Regions from separate parts of the Homo sapiens genome. Here region 2 is linked to region 1. The links are contacts of gene promoters, found by promoter capture Hi-C in blood cells and fetal thymus (Javierre and others, 2016). All regions are on one chromosome and are shown on one strand. Each heading gives the region's core, a stretch centred on a gene start or on the middle of the fragment in contact. The rest is flanking DNA. Distances are from core to core; before and after follow the strand shown. Region 1 holds the start of LINC00479 (long intergenic non-protein coding RNA 479). Region 2 has its middle 34 kb from the start of PCSEAT.

Region 1 (4,542 bases), core at 1,165-3,664:
AGGCTTCCATAGTCACGGGAGGCCAAGCATTGGCACGACCGTCAGAAGCTGGAGGCGGGCACAGAACAGACGTGTCCCCAGAGCCTCCAGGAGGAACCCACCCTGCCCACACCTTCCTTCCTGACTTGTGGGTTTGTGATACTTTGTTATGGCATCCACAGGGCACAAATCCTCCTGCAGAATTAAAGGAAAGATGCTCCTGCACGCTGTAAATGCTGATTAAAGCTACGTTTGCTTATAGCTCTTACAGAGTTATGAAGGCAAAGCAAATTTGTAAAGTTACAGCTCCAACACTGTAAAACCATTCAAACTAAAAACATGCTGTATGGGGACAGGTTCCACTGGGCTGCCTTGGCAGCCTGGGCTGAGGGGCCCAATGCTGGTGACTCACCTGCCCTCCCTCCCCTTTTCTCTCTGCCAAGCAGGAGCCACCTTTCTTCATGGCGGCCCTGCAGGCCCCAGGCTTGGTGTTGCGGGAAGAGCCTTTCATGAACAGGTCCATGTCGCTCTTTTCTCTCCAGCCCATGACAGAAGTGGAACACGGCCTGCACGGGTGGCACCAAGGCGGCATCATCAGGCTCTTCCCAATGTGAAGGAAGCTTTGACTCCATGGTGAACCCTTTATTGGGGGCTGACTCCAGGCCCGGCTATGGTTGTATTTTACAGAACTTGCTGGAGACACCTGTCTTGCTGGGCTGATGGATTCAGAACCAATGATGGGAACGGGGTCAGGTCCTCCGTCCAGTGAGTGAGGAGGGATTCCAGATGAGCCTCTGGACCCTCTTCCTATGCGCAGATGGCTTGTATCCTGAAGATGGAAACAGCCTGCTTCTTCACCGTCGAGACCCTGATGGAGGAAGGTGCTCCCCAGTGAGGCCGAGGGCCCCCTTTTCAGACATACAGTGGCACCTTGTTCCTCTGGGCTGGGTCTTTGCGGTAGGCCAGTGTTGTTGTCGTGGGCACCTAAGTTGTGGGCACTGGAGGGATGGAGGCCTTTAGGCTGCACCAAGTTACCTGCCTCGGCTTCTGGTTCCTCAACTATAAAACCAGATGGTCAGAGTAGGGAGCCTCGAGGGTCCCGTCCAGGTCTACAGGTGGATAACCTGTGCGCAGAGGCCACACTGTGAGAGAAGACCTGGTGGAGGATGTTTCCCGTGTCACAGCTGCAAGTAGGAAGAGTGTGAATCCCTGTGAATCGGCAGAGAAGAGCAAGGGGAGGGTTCAGGTGTAGGTGGGGGCGGGAGGGAGGATTAGGGGGAGGTGGTGTCAGTTTCCCAAGGCTGCTGTAATGAATATCCACAGACTTGGAGGCTTAAACAACACACACTGTCTTATGGTTCTCAAAATCAGAATGCTGAAATGGGTCTTGCGGGGTAAAATCTGTGAACAGTCATTTCTTCCCTCTCCAGGCCCTGATGGGGGAAGGGGCTCCTGGGCCAGTGTCAGCAGGGCCGGGTTCTTCTGGAGGCTCAGGGGAGAAGCTGCCTTCCTGTCTTTTCAGCTTCCAGAGGCCGCCTGCACGCCTCAGGGTCCCCGCAGCAGACCACATCACTCCAACCTTCGCTTCATCCTTGCATCTCCTCCTCCGCCTCCCTTCCTCCCTCTCATAAGGACCCTAGGATGACACTGGACCCCCCGACTGACCCAGGAGAATCTCCGCAACATGTGGGGAGGTGGAGTGATTGTGCAAAGCAGAGTGAGGTGGTGTTGCTGGAAGACTCGAATCACATCTGCAGGATCTCTGCGGAAGCTCTGGGGATAAGATTTGGCATCTTTGCAGTGGCCGTTATTCTGCCCACCGCAGGGGCCCCCATCTGATGATAGAGAAAAGGCACATAGAAGATGCTCGGAAACACGTGTTGAGTGAAAGAGTGAGTGGCTGTGTGGAGCCGAGACTAGGTTGGTCTGTGCAGGAGGTGTAACAAGAGCTGCATCTTGTATTTCTGCCTGCCTTCCTGCCTCTGCCATTGACTGGAGGTCAGCAGGTCTGACAGTTCCAGAAATAGAACTTCTGCTCTGATCTGATCCACACGAAGGTGAAGGTCAGGTGCAGGATCCTCCGCCCCCACCTTGTGGTTTCTGGGGGTGCTGAGCCAGGGCCCCACCTCTGCCCTGGGGGACACCCCCTGCCAAGTTTGCTTGGAGGCTCCTTTGAGCTCAGGCACGCCCAAGAGCCAGAAGGAGAGGACTTGTAAAGACAGGGACTGTAACCCCAGGCAGGCCTGTGTCCTGGCCCTTAGGGAAGGAATAATGAGTAGACTATTGTGTAAGAAAGATGAGAATCAGGCAGATAAAGGGCCCAGTGAAGCTGCCTGCCCCACTCCCTACCCCCAGGACTGAACCTTGGACCCCACCTAACATTCCAGCTCCACTGCGGTGCCCTGGTCTCCATGACAACCGGGAATCATTTTACAAATAGAAGATTGTGGATCCCTGGGAACGCAGAGGTGAGGAAGTCTCAGGAGTAAAGGTTTCATTTACGGCACCTTGGTGCGAAGGTGTCAGGCCAGGCCTTGGAGCCAAATTCTATGCAGAATGACCAAGTGCCGAGAGCAGAAAACACGGGCTATGTTCCTGACCCTTTGCCTGTTAGCCGTGTGGCTCTGGTTCTGGAGTGAAGGGAGCAGCAGGATGCTCTGGGCCTTAAGTGACAGAATTCCTAACTCTCTGAGACCAGAGCAAGGCTTTGGAAAGGCTGGAGGGAAGCCATTAAGTCGGTGAGGTTTTCCTGGCTTGCCCCATGGAGGCAAGATGGCTGCAGGGACTCCAGGCATCACGTCCATTGAGGACAACATCCAATGCACAAAGGAGGGCAGGTGGCAAAGGGGCTTCTCCTCTCACAGCTCTTTATCACAAACTGCTGCCTCCTCCAGCATCCCTCAAAGACCGCTTTGTTTCCCATCAGCAGGAATGCGTGGCAGGAAGGAATCTCCCAGGGATTCACAGTTCACCCCTAAATCAATCCGTGGGGCCCGAGGGGCAAAGTATCTGAGTGACCCAGCCCTCAGTCTTGTGTCCGTTCCTGAGAAGGAGCTCAGCCTTGCCCCTCAGGAGCTGCATGTACCAAATGTGAGTGTGTGTGTGCCTGAGTGTGCCTCTTCACCTCAGTGAGTGTGTCCATGTGTGAAAGCAGATGTTTGTATGTGCACAGGTGTGTGCTGTGTGCATACAAAGCGGGGGCAGGGCATGTGGGGATGTTGTACCTGAGCGAGTTAGAAAAACGCCACACTTTGAGATGAATTAGGAGTCCTCTATTAGCTGGCAACCAAGAGACAGCTAACGCTCAAAATTCTCTTGGCCCCGAGGAAGGGGCTTGATTAACTTTTACATCTTGGTTTAGGAAGGGGAGGGGGGTCTAGTTAGAACAATTTTACAGAAGTTAAGTAGTCAAAAAGTTAAAAGGACAAATGGTTACAGGAAAGTAAACAGTTCCAGGTGCAGGGGCTTTAAGACTATTACAAGGTGATAGACGCGGGGCTTCGGGCGTTATCATTCGGACAAATTCCTGGGAACTGCGGATCTAGCTCGCCACAGTATCTTATCAGTTAACTGCATTCTTGGATGTGCTGGGAGTCAGCTTGCACAAGTTAAGTCCTTGAGGAAGGGGCTGCCGGTGAAAGAGCCAAGATGGAGTTTGTGTGACTCTCTCAGCTAAGGGAGAAGCAAGGCTAGGTGAATAAAGGAAAAACAAGGTTGGGCATTACACGGAGGTGGAGTGATTGTGTAAAGCAGAGTGAGGTGGTGTTGCTGGAAGACATGGATGGAGGCATGACACAGACTGTCCACTGCAAAAACCATGGACGGAGGAGGCGTCACACAGACTGTCCACTGCAAAGACCACAGATGGAGGCGTGACACAGACTGTCCACTGCAGAGACCATGGACGGAGGCAGCCTCCGAGCCAGCCCAGCAGCCATGGACGGAGGAGCCTTGGAGCCAGCCCAGCAGCTCTCCTGTGAGTGGGGCCGGCACTGTCCCCAGCATTTGTGCCACCGGTGCTGTAGAAGGGCGGGGAGACAGCACATGGGGACTTGCCATTCCCGTTCTGTTCCGCAGCACTGGAGGGGTGGACGGGACAGGACCGGCTGCTCATTCCACGCTGGAGGGAGGCCAGGAGTCTCAGCTGGATGCAGTCACCTGACCTGGAGAGTTCAAAGTGCCTAACACAGGTGCTCACCCCTCTTCCCCCTCACCCCTGTCTGGACCTGGGACATGGAGCCTTCCTCTAAGTCTGGTCTCCCCGCTCCTCCAGGAAGGTCCTGGAGGGGATGGCCTGGGATGGGCTAGGACCCGGTTCCCACCTCAGGAGGCCTCTGGCCATGGAAGTGCTAAGGTGCCTAGTATCCGTCTGTCCGGGTGACTCTGGCTTGGGGGTTGGGTGGCCTTGCCTGCGTCCAGCGACATGGGGAGGTGTGTGTGGAAAACCAGATGCCACCTCACTCACATGGCGCGGGGCGGTGGCTGGGGGTTGGAGGTGATGGCTACTGGTTCCTCCCCCACTGGGGACCATTTCCAGGGATGCTGCTACCCACAAGCCTGGAT
Region 2 (4,542 bases), core at 1,237-3,736, 100 kb after region 1:
AAAAAGAAAAGAAAAGAAAAGAAACAACAAAACAACAAAAAACTAAAAGAGCTATCAACGTAATATATTTGTAAGTCCTCTAGTGTTGCCACACATACAAGTAGCAGTAAAATAAAAATACTTTAACAAAAACTTAGGAGTCCACAGGATTTTTTTAAAAAGAGGATCTCTAAATGTAAGCTTGGGAAATGCTGGTTTAAGGCAGACTAAGCTGAAGGTTACACATCTCAGGCTTAGTCTGACTTGGAGAGGTGGGAAGTTTGTTGGAACTGGTGAGAGATCCCAGGAGCTGTGAGAATTCCCGCTCGCAGCTTTGACTGTAGCTCTGAACAACTTACTTCATTCACAGGATGGAGCCCAGGTGTATTAGGCAGTGAGTGGAGGAATCTAGTCTTCAGACGAGGGGCAGACCAGAGCTAGATTAGGGGCTCTTGGAATTATCCTCTTAGACCACTGAAGTGTAGGAAGGGAAGCCAAGGCACGTGGCCAGACCATGGCATTGGAGTGGGAGATGTCAGAGGGGACAGGGCTGTGACTCAGGAGTCATTCAGGCCCCACATCTGACCCCGTGGTCCCAGGAGGTCTGCCTGCTGACTGGGAGACCACTGCCCTGCCCAAGCGCTTTCTACCTTGGTCCTGAGGGCTCTGTCCTGGGGATGCTGCCAGAATCACAGGAGACTCTGTCCCGGAGGGCTGGGAAGGCAGCTGGCAACTGAACAGCCCATTGGCCATCCTGCCTGGCTGGACATGTGGGTTGTCTTTCATTTGTTATGACTAAGAATAGCACATTACCTCTTAAAAACTTTCCAGGCCTAGAAAATCTTCCCCACTCATTGGGGAGCAGGATGCTGGGCTCCTGATTAAATGCTTATCCTGGCACTTGAGCAGATTTGAATCTCTTTTTAAGGAATCTTTGGCCTTTCCCACAGGCAAGCTGCCCACAGCATGGGGAAGAGCGGCCGGTGCTCGCGTGAGGACGTCTCCAGCTCATCTGCTCCTGTATCTGAGAGCTGATGGCTGCTTTTGCATCTGCTTACTGGAACATTTTGCTTCCTTTATAATCAGCAACACAGAATATGGAATTGGCATCATTCTTGGGCTACATGGACTGATTTCTAGTTCCTGCCAAAAATATGTTTGAAACATCACTGAACAGACATTGTCTAAAAGTCTTGCTATCCATTTTTATTTTCCCAGTTTCATGTTGCTTCAAGTTAAAAATCATGAGAAAGCAGCAAACTGATTATTTTAGCTCCCCAAAATAAATTACTTTACTGAGTCATAAGTTAATGCAGTATCCTTGCATTCCATTTAGAGCCAGTATAAGAATGTTCCCCCAGTCTTCTGCCAAACCACACAGAAAGATGGAGTCTCAAATGAAAGTCTACGCAATATGCTTCTTCTGGATTGGCAACAACACAAAAGTGAGACATACACTCCCTTAGGCAGGCAGTGGGGAAACAGATACTTTCACATATTGCTGGCAGAGTACAAATTGGAGGCAAAGTGGCAATTTCCAGCAAAGCTATGAATGCATATCCACCTTTTGACCAGACGCTTATGCTTCTGGGAATCTGCCCTCCAGCTCTGTTTGCACATGTGCAAAATGATATTGTGCATGAGATGATTTCTTGTGGCATTTTAAATAATGGTGAAAGACTGGAAAGAAGCCAAATATTCCTTTTTCTTTTCTTTGAGACAGGGTCTTTCCCTGTTGCCCAGGCTGGAGCTGGAGTGCCATGGCAGGAGTCACAGCTCACTGAAGCCTCGAACTCACTGACTCAAGCAATCTTCTCACCTTAGCCTCCCAAGTAGCTGGGACTACAGGTGCGCACCAACACATTTGGCTAATTAAAAAAAATTCTTTAAAATATCTTTTAAGTACAGTGTCTTGCTATGTTGCCCAGTCTGGTCTCAAACTCCTGGCCTCAAATAATCTTCTGGCTTCAGCCTTCCAAAGTGCTGGGATTACAGATGTGAGCCCCTGGCCAGAAGCCAAATATTCTTAATAGAGGAGTAGCTAAACCTTTACAGAACTCCCCCACTATAAAATACTATTTACCTGTGAAAAATAATAAGGGGGTTCTCTATATGGATGAGCAGAATCATGGCCCCCAAAATGTGCCTGTTCTAATCTCTGGGACTTGTGAATATGTGACCTTATGTGGCAAAAGCCATTCTGTAAAGGTGATTTAGATCCAGATCTGCCTCACTCTGAAACCCCACTCCCCCACTGTGGCCCCGAGCCTGGCTAGAGATGCCGCCTGCTCCCTGTTGGACACGGTGGACCCGCCAGCATCCCCCTTGCCCACCCTGCACTGAGTGCGGGGGAGGAGGCTGCACAGACCACTCTGTGTCTTGCATTCCTGTCACTCCACCGTCACCCACACACGCAGGGCCTGAGGGCTGTTGGAATGCACCTGTTCATAGGCACATGCATTTATTTAACGGCTCTGTGCTAAAGTGTAGATGAGGAGAAGGAGTTTGTGCCAGGGTGTATCAGCTTCCTGCAAACGACCACAAACTCAGCAGCATGAACAGCATATTTAATGCATTGCTGGAGGTCGGGAGTCTGTGACGGGTCTCACTGGGCTAAGACCTAGGGCCGGCTCCTCCTGGAGGATCCAGGGCAGAATCTGTTCCTCGCCTTTCTCAGCTTCCAGGGGCTGTCCTCATTTCTAGGCCCATGGGCCCTTCCTCCCTCTTCAAAGCCAATGACGTTGGATCAGGTCCTCACTGCCACACTTCTGGCTGCTAGTTCCCTTTTAAGAACACTGTGAGGACTCTGGGCCTGCGGGATCCCCCAGGATCTCCTCCTTAGGTTAAGGGTGGTGTTCACCAATCCAGTTCCACCTGCAACCCCAACTCCCCTCTGCATGTGATATGATGCACTCACGGCGAATAGGGCTAGGGTGGAGGCATCTTGGTGGAATGGTGGGGTCTTCACTCTGCCTGCCACACAGGAAACAGGTGGCATCCAGGACATTCCAAGCCCCCACGCTTCCTAGAATAAGACCCAAACTCTACCCAGGGCCATGATGGCACTGCAAGGTTACAGGCCCGATGGCCCCTCTGCCCCAACCTGGGTCCCTGGGGGACTGGAAGGAGCCGAGCTCTTCCCCACTCAGGTCTCCTTTCCGCTGTCCTCTGTGGGGGCTCTGCTGCTCCTCCTCCGGTTTCAGGCCTCGCTCCTCCCACTGTCCCTCTCAGGTGTGCTCCCCGCTGGGGCTTCTCCCGTGGCCTCTGCTCCGTTGCAGTTCCCATCGCCTGGTTTACTGCCCCCTTTCCTGGATTATGTGCTCCCTCCCAGAGGCATCAACCACACCTGCCTGTCTCTCACCATGCTGTGCCAAGCACAGACGTCAGCCTGACCAGCACGGAACAGGCCACCAGACCGTAAAATCCATGGCAACAATCACACCACGCATTTCAATGGCCCATTCGAAATTTCCCCAGTGTAATCAGGCCATCTTGGCATGCGTCTGGCGGCAGAGACCAGGGAGGTTTGCAGCCGACACTCTCCACATATCAAGCTGAAGTGCCCGTGTCTCGGCGCAGGCTCTGTCGTCCGCCCGTCACACCGTGGCTTATCTTTTCGTGTGTCTTCTGGGTTGAGTTCATCAGTGCAGAGGCTAAGACTGGTCTGGTCTCCATGGAGTATCTAACCCTGTGCCTGGTCATAGCAGGGATTCAATAAGGCACGTGTGCGGAATGGATGAATGAGCGGATGAATGAACAGAAGGAGCGAGCTGATTTACAAAGAGTGGTAGGGAGGGGCCAGGGGAGCTTCCATTCTCTGAACTCATGGAAATGCATGAAATTGCCCGGAGCATCCACAGCCAGAAGCTGAAACTGCAACCTCTTCCCATGAGATCTGCGTTTCCTGGGGCCTGTGGCCATCCTGGCCTCCCGTTCACGCACGCTGTAGGAGAGGCAGCCAGGCAGAGCGAGTCCCAGCCCGGTTGCCTGGGCTTGTTCCCAGGCCTAAGGAGCCAGCTTCCCACACTGTGCTCCAGGATCCCATCAGCTGCCGCAGCATCAAAGCCAGGTCCAGCCCCTGCAGCTAAAGTTGCTGGAGGCAGACACACATTCCTGGGTGTTTTGGCAGTAAGACTTCCCGGCAGAGGGCAGGGAAGGAATCTGGGAGGTGCCGCCTTTCTTATGAGGACACATTCTGAACCAAACTACACAGAAGCTGTCCCCCAGGCTGAGGCCCAGCCCTGGTTGGATGGCAGGGGCTGTGGGCACTGTCGGGGTCGGTGGGGCGGGGGGGTGCCCTGTGATGGACTGTGGAGCCACACTGCCCCCTGCCGTTAGTTCTGAGTGACGCTGTTCATTCTTCCCACCCAAATATTCTCCCAAATGTCCGCAGCCCTAGAGAGCTCGACCTCCAATCCTTGCTTTGCTCACACTCAGCCCCTTCAGCACTTCAGGAAGGCAGGGATTTGAACAACTGAACTCAAGGCATTTGGCAGGGGCCAGTTTTGCTAAGAAAAGAAAAGAAAATGCCTCTTTTATTGTTGCAATGCCCCAGACAAAGGC

Evidence for each region. Contacts are between HindIII fragments. The CHiCAGO score rates a contact against its expected background, and 5 or more counts as called.
Region 2: a fragment that was not itself captured here is called in contact with the fragment with the promoter of LINC00479 in region 1 in 1 of 17 cell types (M2 macrophages); the score reaches 12.3 in M2 macrophages.

Annotation. Positions count from the first base shown.
Region 1 is chr21:41,713,647-41,718,188 of GRCh38, reverse strand. LINC00479 (long intergenic non-protein coding RNA 479) reads left to right here and starts at 2,414. Exons shown (of 6, transcript NR_027272.1): 1 at 2,414-2,447; 2 at 2,906-3,069; 3 at 3,837-3,955; 4 at 4,057-4,169; 5 at 4,517-4,542. It overlaps LINC00112 (long intergenic non-protein coding RNA 112), which reads right to left and starts at 1,753. Exons shown (of 3, transcript NR_024028.2): 1 at 1,645-1,753; 2 at 1,015-1,188; 3 at 607-847. The HindIII fragment of the contact is 7,368 bases long and covers 602-4,542 here.
Region 2 is chr21:41,612,597-41,617,138 of GRCh38, reverse strand. No RefSeq gene overlaps it. Among named protein-coding and RNA genes, the nearest start is that of PCSEAT, 34 kb to the right of the region's middle. RefSeq lists an enhancer at 3,871-4,534. The HindIII fragment of the contact is 4,608 bases long and covers 183-4,542 here.